2 separate regions of the Homo sapiens genome follow, and region 1 is linked to region 2. The links are contacts of gene promoters, found by promoter capture Hi-C in blood cells and fetal thymus (Javierre and others, 2016). All regions are on one chromosome and are shown on one strand. The core of a region is centred on a gene start or on the middle of the fragment in contact, and the rest is flanking DNA. Distances in the headings are between cores, read along the strand shown. Region 1 overlaps ACTN2 (actinin alpha 2). Region 2 holds the start of RYR2 (ryanodine receptor 2).

The links. Contacts are between HindIII fragments. The CHiCAGO score rates a contact against its expected background, and 5 or more counts as called.
Region 1: a contact is called between a fragment that was not itself captured here and the fragment with the promoter of RYR2 in region 2, in 1 of 17 cell types (erythroblasts). The highest score is 5.9, in erythroblasts.

What each region holds. Positions count from the first base shown.
Region 1 is chr1:236,761,887-236,766,831 of GRCh38, reverse strand. ACTN2 (actinin alpha 2) reads right to left here. Exons shown (of 21, transcript NM_001103.4): 21 at 2,201-4,371. The coding sequence ends at 4,213. Among named protein-coding and RNA genes, the nearest start is that of MTR, 31 kb to the left of the region's middle. The HindIII fragment of the contact is 962 bases long and covers 3,171-4,132 here.
Region 2 is chr1:237,040,089-237,045,564 of GRCh38, reverse strand. RYR2 (ryanodine receptor 2) reads right to left here and starts at 3,381. Exons shown (of 105, transcript NM_001035.3): 1 at 2,996-3,381. The coding sequence starts at 3,043. The HindIII fragment of the contact is 4,786 bases long and covers 1,597-5,476 here.

The DNA.
Region 1 (4,945 bases), core at 2,402-4,901, 280 kb after region 2:
AAGGTTAGCCTAAATCTGCCTCCTGACATATTTTAAGTTCAGCCTAAAGGTTTTTCCATACACAGTGAACTGTAACCTCACTGGATGTGTAAACAGATTGTAACCTACTTTTGTACCGATCACCAAGTTTTGGTGAATGAAAGGCAGCCAACTGTTCAAATTGTTTACATAAGGCAAACACCAAGCTGTAACCAATCCAGCAGTTTCTGCGCCTCACTTTCCCCCCTCAGTCCCCAAGTCCTCTCATGCAGCAGCACCAGAGCTGCTCTGTACCTGTTCTGATTCAGGGGCTGCCCAAGTCACAAATTGTTCTTTGTTCAACTCAACTCTGTTAAATTTGTCTGAAGTTTTTCTTTTAACAAGACCATGACAATTGGTTTTCTTATATCTTATATATCTTATATCTTATATTGGCTTTTTAATATCTGCCACTGTGGTTTCTTGGAAGTTCCCAGCCATGCAAAAGGATTTGCGAGTATGCCTTGGTGTACTCCCAGACATTCCATCCATTTTACAACAAGGAGGTCTGCACTGCTGGGGAGGTAACTCCTAAAAGACTTAAATCCCAGAGGGAATTCATGGCCAGGGGTCACTGACAAATCGCAACTCCTAGCACCTTAAAAAGAATAACGGTCTGTCAGTTGCTTAAGGATTGAGTTATTAATTAATGAATCTAAAAAGGAAAAACGACGCTGTCTTCTCTGCTGACTCCATCTGAAATATGAAAATGTCTCAGAGCAGTATAATTATTGTGTAGGCTCCAGGGAACCCGAAAGAGCTCAAGGACACAGTGGGAACTCAGTGTCTTCTTGTCAAATAATCCAGGGAAGCTGTGGGTGAATCTTTGTCAGCCTGGTAACAACTAGCAACTTCTGAAAATACATGTTTCTGACTCCGTATCACTTAGATTTGTTTCCTTTCATATGAAGCCTGTAAAGAGCTCATTTCCAGCTTATTTCCATGAACATAGATGAATCTGGTATACAGCAGGAATGAATACCAAGCCAAATGCTCTAATTTAAAACTCAGTTATGTCAAGCATTTCTGTATTACCAACCAGATGGCACAAGGGTTTGCCTGGCCATTTGTATTGCTCAACTATTAACCTTGCCAGTAAGGTCTTCTCTAATCATTTTATTAGACTTTTTTTCTTTTTTTTTTTTTTTGAGATGGAGTCTTGCTCTGTTGCCCAGGCTGGAGTGCAATGGCACTATCTCAGCTCACTGCAAACTCCACCTCCCAGGTTCAAACGATTCTCCTGCCTCAGCCTCCCGAGTAGCTGGGACTACAGACGCACACCATCAAATCCGGCTAATTTTTGAATTTTCAGTAGAGACGGGGTTTCACCATGTTGGCCAGGATGGTCTCGATCTCTTGACCTCATGATCTGCCTGCCTTGGCCTCCCAACATGCTGGGATTACAGGCGTGAGCCACCACGCTTGGCCGTTTTAGACTCTTGATTCTTAATGACCTTTCCTTTGCCTCTAATCCACGGGTTCTCATGGGGGGTTATTAGAAATTCCATGGAGTTTTAAAAAACTGCAGATGTCCAAGTCTTACCTAGACCTTCACAGCTTGAGACTCTGGGATTAGGGCTGAGTATGCATACATTTTAGAAAATATTTACTGAGGATTCTGAAGTGATCTCTTGGTTAAAAATTCCTTCCTAATCTATTCATCACTGATTTTTTTTTTTTTTTTTTTTTTTTTGAGATGGAGTTTCACTCTTGTTGCCCAGGCTGGTAGTGCAATGGCTCCATCTCGGCTCACTGCAATCTCCACCTCTTGGGTTCAAGTGATTCTCCTGCCTTAGCTGCTGAGTAGCTGGGATTACAGGCATGCAACCAAACCCGGCTAATTTTTGTATTTTTAGTAGACATGGGTTTTTGCCATGTTGGCCAGGCTGGTCTTGAACTCCTGATCTCAAGTGATCCGCCCACCTTGGCCTCTCAAAGTACTGGGATTACAGGTGTGTGCCACCATGCCCCGGGCCATCCATCATTCACTTCTAAATGGTTCATTGTTAATTCTCCATCTTATGTTCACCCTCTACCCAGTAAGCCTGTCTCTAATTCTTTAAGGGAGGCAAATACTAACCCAATGACTGTTTTTAATTCTCATGGAACCTTTAAGTGAGGAAGTTTGTTTGTAGTTAACCAAAGTAATGGTTATTTTTTGAAATAACAAAAATAGGGATTCTTTTTTCTTTTATAAATTAAGTTTAATTTAGAAACTTATAAACGTTTTAATTTTTGAGCATCCAGCTTCAGAAATAAAAATAATACCTAAAATGAGAGTATAAACATGTTTATTATTTTTCAGAGTTTACTTCCTTTCTTCATTTATTAGCAGATAGAGACTACTGACCCCCTCTCTTGCTGAATGTTGTAAAGAAATTAAAAGTTTAGGTAGATGAGTTACCCACACCCATCCTAAAACACCACAGAGCCCCCTAATAGCCTCAAAGGAAGCACAACTTTCTGGCTTTTCTATAGGGGTTTATGGCCGGGATATAGCACCTACTTGAAATAAAATAGAGTCAGAGTTCATCTAAACCACCCCAAAAGTGTTTGGCATTAAACTCAAGGATTCAAATATTTCAGGAATCTGGAAACTACCAATTACTTAATAATGAAGCAAATTAAGTGAAATTCATAAAGGTTGAAGGTTCTAAATGGCCCAGTGTAGGAAGAAGAGTCAAGCTGTCAGACAGCTTGGAATGGAAATATTACATTTCCAGCTGTTGGTGGAAATCTATAAAAATCTGAGCAAACAGACTGTAGGTAACAGACATGTTACTGCTTCTCTAGTAATGCTTTAATTGCTGTTTGCAACTGTTTTTGTTTGTTTGTAATCCATTTCCTGATCATTAAGGACTCAGATATAAAAAGAATTCCTGCTTTATTCTCTACAAGCTGTCAACAAGATGGAAAAACAGGGGGGAATTATAGCCTACAGCAGTATGAGCAAAAAGAAAGAATGAACATTCAACAGATCAAGATGTGCTAGCAGGAGTGCATGTAGCATCCTGTGTCATGGAGCAGGCCTTTAGACACAGAACCAGACATGGGACTTGTTAGGATACACTGTCCAATCCCAGGGGTGAACACACACCGCACACTAGCTAAAATATCTAGTTATTCCTACTACACAAAACATATGTAAAGCTTCCGCAAAAGAAAGAACTCACCTCCACTGCTGCTGAGAATTAGTCCTCTCCTACTCTAACTCTGGCTTCTCCTTAACCGGTCATAAAACTAGAGGCATAAGGAAGTCCTGACTGGAGAGCTAGAAGGATACTGGTTTCTGACTTGCCTTGTGATGAACCAGTCAGTACTACAGAAACCTGCTTATTTATAAACAGAGCACTTTTATGTGGTCATCTCTTGAGAACCTGTACTAATAAGCTCTAACAAAAAGCATGGGAACCTGGAATCAATAAATAATCCTAAAAACCTCATTTTACCTAGTGATTGCATCCTTCTCTCTGGCAATTAAACTGACTTCCACGTGTCCTTAGGTCTCTATTCTGGAGGATAAGAGAAGCATCAAAAAATCACTGACTGAGTTGACCATCCAGCCCTAAATAATGAAGAGATGACATAAACTATTTTAAAAATTGTAAGTGCCAAAAATCTTTTGGGTAGTCTTTTTAATCCCCGGCAGTTCCATCTCACAATATTAAATTCATTTGAAGATACAATAGTAATCTTTGGATAAGCATGAAAATAAAACATTAGAATCCCAAATATACTCCCCTAGGGGCAATCACATAAGCATATTAGAGATAAATGAAATTTTTTACAAATAGCAAACCTTTATTTACCAATTTGTGGTTTTTTCCCCCCGGTCTTAAATCTTGGGTATTTTGTATTTTCACATTTTTCACTTTCCTTCTGTCCCTAGATCCTCCTAATTTCCTATTACTCAAGTAATTTGTTCTGTTTAATCAAAGAAATCAACCTGATATTTCATTACATTTTGCTAAAAACTCAGAAATAAACCTATTTATGAAGCGCACTATGTCATATACTGTAAAAACTTCATTTTAGCCGTGTTATATTGCTGGCAATTACTGAACTACGAAAGGCTTTTTTTTTTCCCCTCTCTCTCTCTCAACTTAATAAAGCTTGTCAAAGTTTCCAGGAAACAAACTGTGACTTCCGCTTTTATTGCATTCTGATGGGATGAGTGATTACAGAAGCTCAGCATCACAGATCGCTCTCCCCGTAGAGTGCGGAAGAGAACGCAGCGTAATCCAGTGCACCAGGCACACTGCCTGGGCCCGAGTAGGCGGGCATCCTCTTGATGCAGTACTGGGCCTGATCCGGGGGCAGCTCCCGACGCAGCTCCTCCGCCAGGATGTATGGCTGGGAAAAAATACACACGTGTTTGCAGTCAGTTGCAGAAACACCACAACATAAACAGTCTTAATACTTACATATTTCTTGCATCTGTTTAATTTTTTAAAAGGACTAAAGAATAGGGAGTCTATTGGCATAGTAGTACCAGACAACCAACAGAAAGCCAAGTTTTACTTGTAGGAGCGTATCTAGAAGCGGCCTGGCCAGCAGGAAGGGTGATATGCTTCATAAAGGCAAATGGAGCATTACTAGTAGTTCTCAAACTGAGCCACAATGCGAGGATACGTACTATGATCTGCATTTCATACCAGAAAAGATGAAGCTTTTAAAAAAAAAGTTCAGTGGGAAATAGGACAATTCCAGCCAAATAGTCTGGTTGGTAAAAGTCAAAATAAGTAAATCTCAAATATCACATTATAATTTATATCATTATAGTTTGCATATTATATAATTTATAGTAGAAGTTTCTTAGTGGGGTTGGAGGAGCCATGGTTTCTTACCTTCTAAATCAGCTGGGCTATTTCCCATCCACCCTCACCCCATGGGTAAATGATTCATTTTAAAGAAAACATTATTTTAA
Region 2 (5,476 bases), core at 2,132-4,631:
TTACAAAAACATATTTTCAATCTCTCTCAAAGATAAACAGACCCAAGTGGGCAGGTTTCCAACAGATGGGGGAGCCACTGAATCAATGATCATTCATCTACATAACTATTTGGAAGGAATGTGAGCCAACTCGACAAGCAGCAGCAAATGGAACAGAGATGCCAGAGAGACAGGTACAAGCTAAACAGTGACAAACCCCTTTGCAAATGAGGAATTAATTTACAGCAGCATACATAACTCACAGATACAGCCCATTAAAGATTTCACCTCTACTTCCCTTAACAGTGATCTCACACCTCTTCTAAAAAAAGAAAAGCAAAAAAGCTTTCTGTGGACAGTGGTCAAAAAGATGCCTCAATGTGCTGGGGTGCTGAATACAAATCCAATAGACAATGACCTGCTCAAGATAATAATCCAGATGTTCTAATCAGGACATATGAAATGTCCCATCAAATTCACAATTACGGTGTCTTAATGACTGTTTTTGTTTTTCTATGCAAAACAGCTTCATCCATCACTATCAAGAATTCTTCCATCTACAACTGTTTTATCAAGATGTACAGATTCCTAATACTCCTTGGGCTATTTGCTTTAAAAAAAAAAAAAAAGAAGAAGAAGAAGAAATAACTCATATTGACAAGCTTGCACATGACAGAGAAATAAATGCCCTCAGAAAAAAAAGAAGCGACTTCAATGTGGGAACTATACTACAGTCTCCCCATTATTCACCCCATCAGCATTTCTGAACCACCAACATTCTCAGGTTAAGAGAAAAAAAAGGGGGGTGGGGGAGGGAAGGATGGAGGGTAATGGGTGGAGAAGCCGGTAAAGGATTTGAGAATTTCCATATGAAAATTGGAAAATTGTGAGGAAAGGCATGTTTTCCTTTTAGATGTTAATGCTATACCAAAAAAAAAAAAATCCCCCTGCTCCACTGTGTCACCTCCTTCAAGGTCATTTGTCGTCAGCACAGCAACCTACGGATGTTTTATTAAAAGAAAAATCCCAGCCTGGGACTGCCAGATCTCTACCCAGGACCCACTTATCAAAGGTGCTGCTCTAGCTGACAGGCAGCTGCTGAGTGGCACAGAGTTGACATTACTTGATATGTGCAGAACCTCATCAGCCAGCACGTTCCCTCGGTCCCCATTAAGCATTCTGATAACACCACCTCCATGAGCTCGGCTTAACAGTTAAGCCCGCAGGAAGCCCTTGAGTGCATGAAGCCTACCAAAATGTCCCAGCTAGTTTTAACCCCACAGAGTTTGATACGAATTGATTGAAAAATTATACAGCAACCGTATTTGTCCACCTGAATAAAATAGTCCTTAGTTTTGAGAAAAATCTAATGTGGTGTTAATTACTTAAAAAAAAAAAAACCCTTATAGTCTATTTTCTATGAAAAAGACAACTGTATTACTAGCAGGTTTATACACCGTGACCAAGGTATTAGTGAAGAGGCTCTTCCAAGCCCGGTCTTGGGCCAACAGTACTTCAAAAAGCATATGCAATGGTGCATAACCTGCAGCTATTAGACTGGATTACTATTAGGTTGTCATCTGATGTGGACCCTGGGTTTTTATCCTTCCCAAAGCTTTCTCCCAGTCCGTTTAATGCACAAAAGAGAAAGAGACAGTCGTTTACAACGTTCCTTTGCAAATTCGCTGTTTTCATATGTTTAGTACCCAAATACATCAAGACTATTTTCACACCTAAAAGTTAATATTCCAAAATTCCACCGTATCTACGATTTTCTGTGATTATAGGTAACTGTAACCGGGAAGTGGTTTTGTTTGTTTGTTTGTTTTGTTTTGTTTTGTTTTTGTACTGCTGAGGAAAGAAGTACCAGCAGAAGCTGCAGTTCTAGGTTGGGGAAGTCTGGGGAATCCTGCAAGGGAACATCCTTCGGGAAGGAGGACAGAAGTGGAGAAGGAACGACTGAAAGGATGCTAACTAGGTTATTATTAGCAGGAAGTTAGGGCATTTTCTTTTCTGGAGAGGCTCTCCAGTCCCAGCTTGGAGGTGTGCAATGCCTCAGCCTGGGAAGTATCTGCAGTGTTCGAACAAATGAGAGAAAGGAAGGAGCAGTGCCAAGAGGTACTTAAGGAGAAAGAATTGTATTAGTGTGGAGCCAACCTTTCCCGGGCAGCCACCCTGCCCTTACACTTACACACACACACTTTGCTTCACTTGGCATGCAATAAGCCAGCATTTAGAGAACGACACGTTCACGATGTTCTCCCCACCACCACCCGCGCGCGCGCACACACGCAAACACACGCTCGCTTCCCATGCCTTCCACGCTTTGCAAGCGGTCACAGCACCACCACGGATGGCACCAGCCCCGGGAACCGCGGGGACCACGGAGGCGACTCCTCCTCCGCTTTCGCAGCACCTTGACTTGGGGGAAACCTCCGCGCAGCGTCCTGCACCATCACCCCCGCCCCCGGTCAGCTGCGCCGCACGCTACACGGAGTAAGCGAACCAACGTCTTCGCTCCGTGACAACGCGCGGGTCCAGCCCGAAAGCCCAAGAAACCTCCCGGCGGCGGTATTCCCAGAAACAGCCCGAGTTCCCGCCGCTCCCCGCGCCCCCACGGGCCACCCTGCTCTGCACCCTGCCCCCGGCCGCCCGGGAGGTCCCAGCCGTGCCACCAGGCAGGCCGGACCGGCCGTCCCCTCCTCTCCCGGTTCCCGCAGCTCCGACGCTCCTGTCCCCGGTGCCCCGGGTCCGAGCCCGGGCGCCTGCCGCCGGCTAGCCGCGCTCCATCCTCTAGCTTTCCACACGCGCGCACAGACACGCGCCCTTGCCTTCCCTCGCCCCAACACGCACACCTGCACACACTTGGTGATGCCCGCTCCTCCCGCATCCTCAGGGGGCACCCCCTCGCCCCGCCCGCGAGTCCCCGCTGCCCGCTGTCACTCTGCCCGGACCCCGCTAGTGGATGCCCTGACGCCCCCTTCCCCTGACAGCACACGCGACGCACGGCGCTTACAGTTCGCAGGAACTGGATCTCGTCTTCGCCCTCGCCCCCATCGGCCATGGTTCCGCGCCTCCTCGCCGGGGCCGGCTCCCGAGCCCCGCGGAGCTCGGCGGCGGCGGCGGCCCCTGGCGCTGCCTTCTGCTTCTGCTGCCGGGAGCCGGGGGCTGGAGGGGGCCGCGCTGCCGGGTGCCGAGCGCCGGGCGGTCCCCGCCTGCAGAGCGGAGGAGGAGGCGCGGACGCTCGGGCGCGGGTGGTCGAGGCGCGGGGCCTCCCTGCTCCGCACTGTGCGGGAGGAGGGCGGCCCGGGCCCGGAGGACGCGGGGAAGCAGCCCCGCAGCCCAGCCGCGCTCGCTGCCTGCAGCCGGCGGTCCGCTCGGCCCCGGCTCCTCCGAGCAAGTGCGCGGAGCCAGCTGAGCCGGGGTTAGTGCAGCGGTGGGGGTGGGGTGTGGGGGCGGGCGGGGAGGAGCTCGGCGGCTCCCCGCTGCTGCAGGTAATCCGCAGCCCGCTCCTCCGGGCCGCCAAACCCGAGGCCCAGCGCCACTTACTGGCTGCGCTGGGAATCGGGGCCGGAGCGCACCCGGCGAGCGCACAGCCTCCTACCTGCGCCCCGCTGGGGTCCCTGGGCTCATTCCCCTGCCCCTTCCGAGCTTAAAACCGCCGGCACGACGCCCCTTCCTCCTGGACTGGGCTAGGGCACTAACTTCCACGGCACTTCGGATCGCACGGAAGAATGATATCTTTCACCTGGGCGCACGGGGTGGCTAATCTCCAAGTAGAGATTACGCAACACCTGGTATTTTAAACGTGGATTACCTCTATTCATGATCAAATGGGAATTCTTCAAGATCTAGTTTTAGTGTACCATGCTTTTCGCAGATAATCGATGCAAAGTGCACGGTTTTGGTGCACAGAACTTTAACATTCAACAAATATACAGTGAGCGCCTATGCCAGACAATGTGGTACAAGACAGACCCAGAAGTGTGTAGTCTGTATTCGAAGTGCAAGCCTTAATTCAACAAGGAATTGCGGTAAAGTATGGGATACTATCTATAAGTCTGAACCACTGGATGGGTCTAAAGTCAGACTGTGCTACCCATTATCCTTGCTGAGAGAAGAAATTCGAGCATTCCACCGCAGATAGTAATATCTTGCTCTCGCAATCCTCCATGCAATAGTCTACCAAATGCCTACTTAACAAACGGCTATGACTAAGAAAATACAGGGTCTGAGACAATTTGGACAAGAAAGCAATTTGTCTCTTGTTCCTAGTCCACAGCGCTTTCATTTATCGTACTTAAAATAAGTATGTGCAAAGTAAAGTTTTCAAATGTCAGTACTACGGAGATGCAGACATTGTAAAACAAGGATTTTTGCGTCCGTTTACCTACATCTTACATTCTGCGGCATCTAACTCATTATTAAAATCGACCACTGAGTTCTATACAGTTTATATTTTATTTTTAGCATTCATTAACTTTGTACTTACTGGGGTAGGTTTGTAAATTTCCAGGAGAATGACAATATGTGTATAAATACTCGCTGTCCGTGGTAGAACTAGTAATGTTCTGCCCTATCTCATGGAAGTATACCAGTCACCTTACCTAAAAACTTGACCTATCCCTGTAGCCATGACGACTAACCAACTCTTAAACCGTTATTATTTATGTGAATGTTTACTCTTACGAGTCTCTAAAGGAACAACCAGTGAGCTCCCAAAAAGTCGGGTAAGAGTCCTCCATGAGCAATGACTATATTCTGAAATTGGCTCCTGATTTAATGTTAAATGATTTGATCTTCCAAATTTAGAACGTATCAAATTGACGTTTTAAACTATTTTATTCAGAACTATGCAGAGACAGGTTTCTTAATTACTCCATTCTACCCAGATGGTAGGTAAAATAATATAAAAACGCTTACCACGTCTTCATTTTGGCATTTTAACTAGGCTGTAAACTGTTCTAGCAAGAGTTATGGTTATTATTTCTTTAGTTCTCTCAATGTAAGTGGAATAATGCTAAAAGGCCTAGACACTCGATGTTTCTTATTCACCCCATACAGTCTTCAACAGCAAGTAGACATAGAGCAGAGACTATTTATAAAACACACCGTGTATGTGGACTTTAAAACACAAAAATACAAAACTATGAGGTTTATAGATCTCTAGTCTGTTCTAAAAGTATAAAAATATGTTTGAGAATGATATACAACATTTATTTTTAAAAAGAAAACCAAAGCAAATATAACAAGTGTTTTAATACTGGTGATGGGCATATTGGTGGAATATTATTTTTGGTACTCTGATATTCTGTTATATTTCATAATTACATAACAAAATAATTTTTACAAGAAAGCAACTTCAGTGAAAGCTATGGAAACTTTTTACTTATAGCTTTTTTAAAAAAAATTTAACCCTTTTGGATAATTTAGTTATAATTCCCTAGTTTCTTCTTCTGGTGGACAATTGTAGTAAGAATTCCAGTGCAGAGATCAT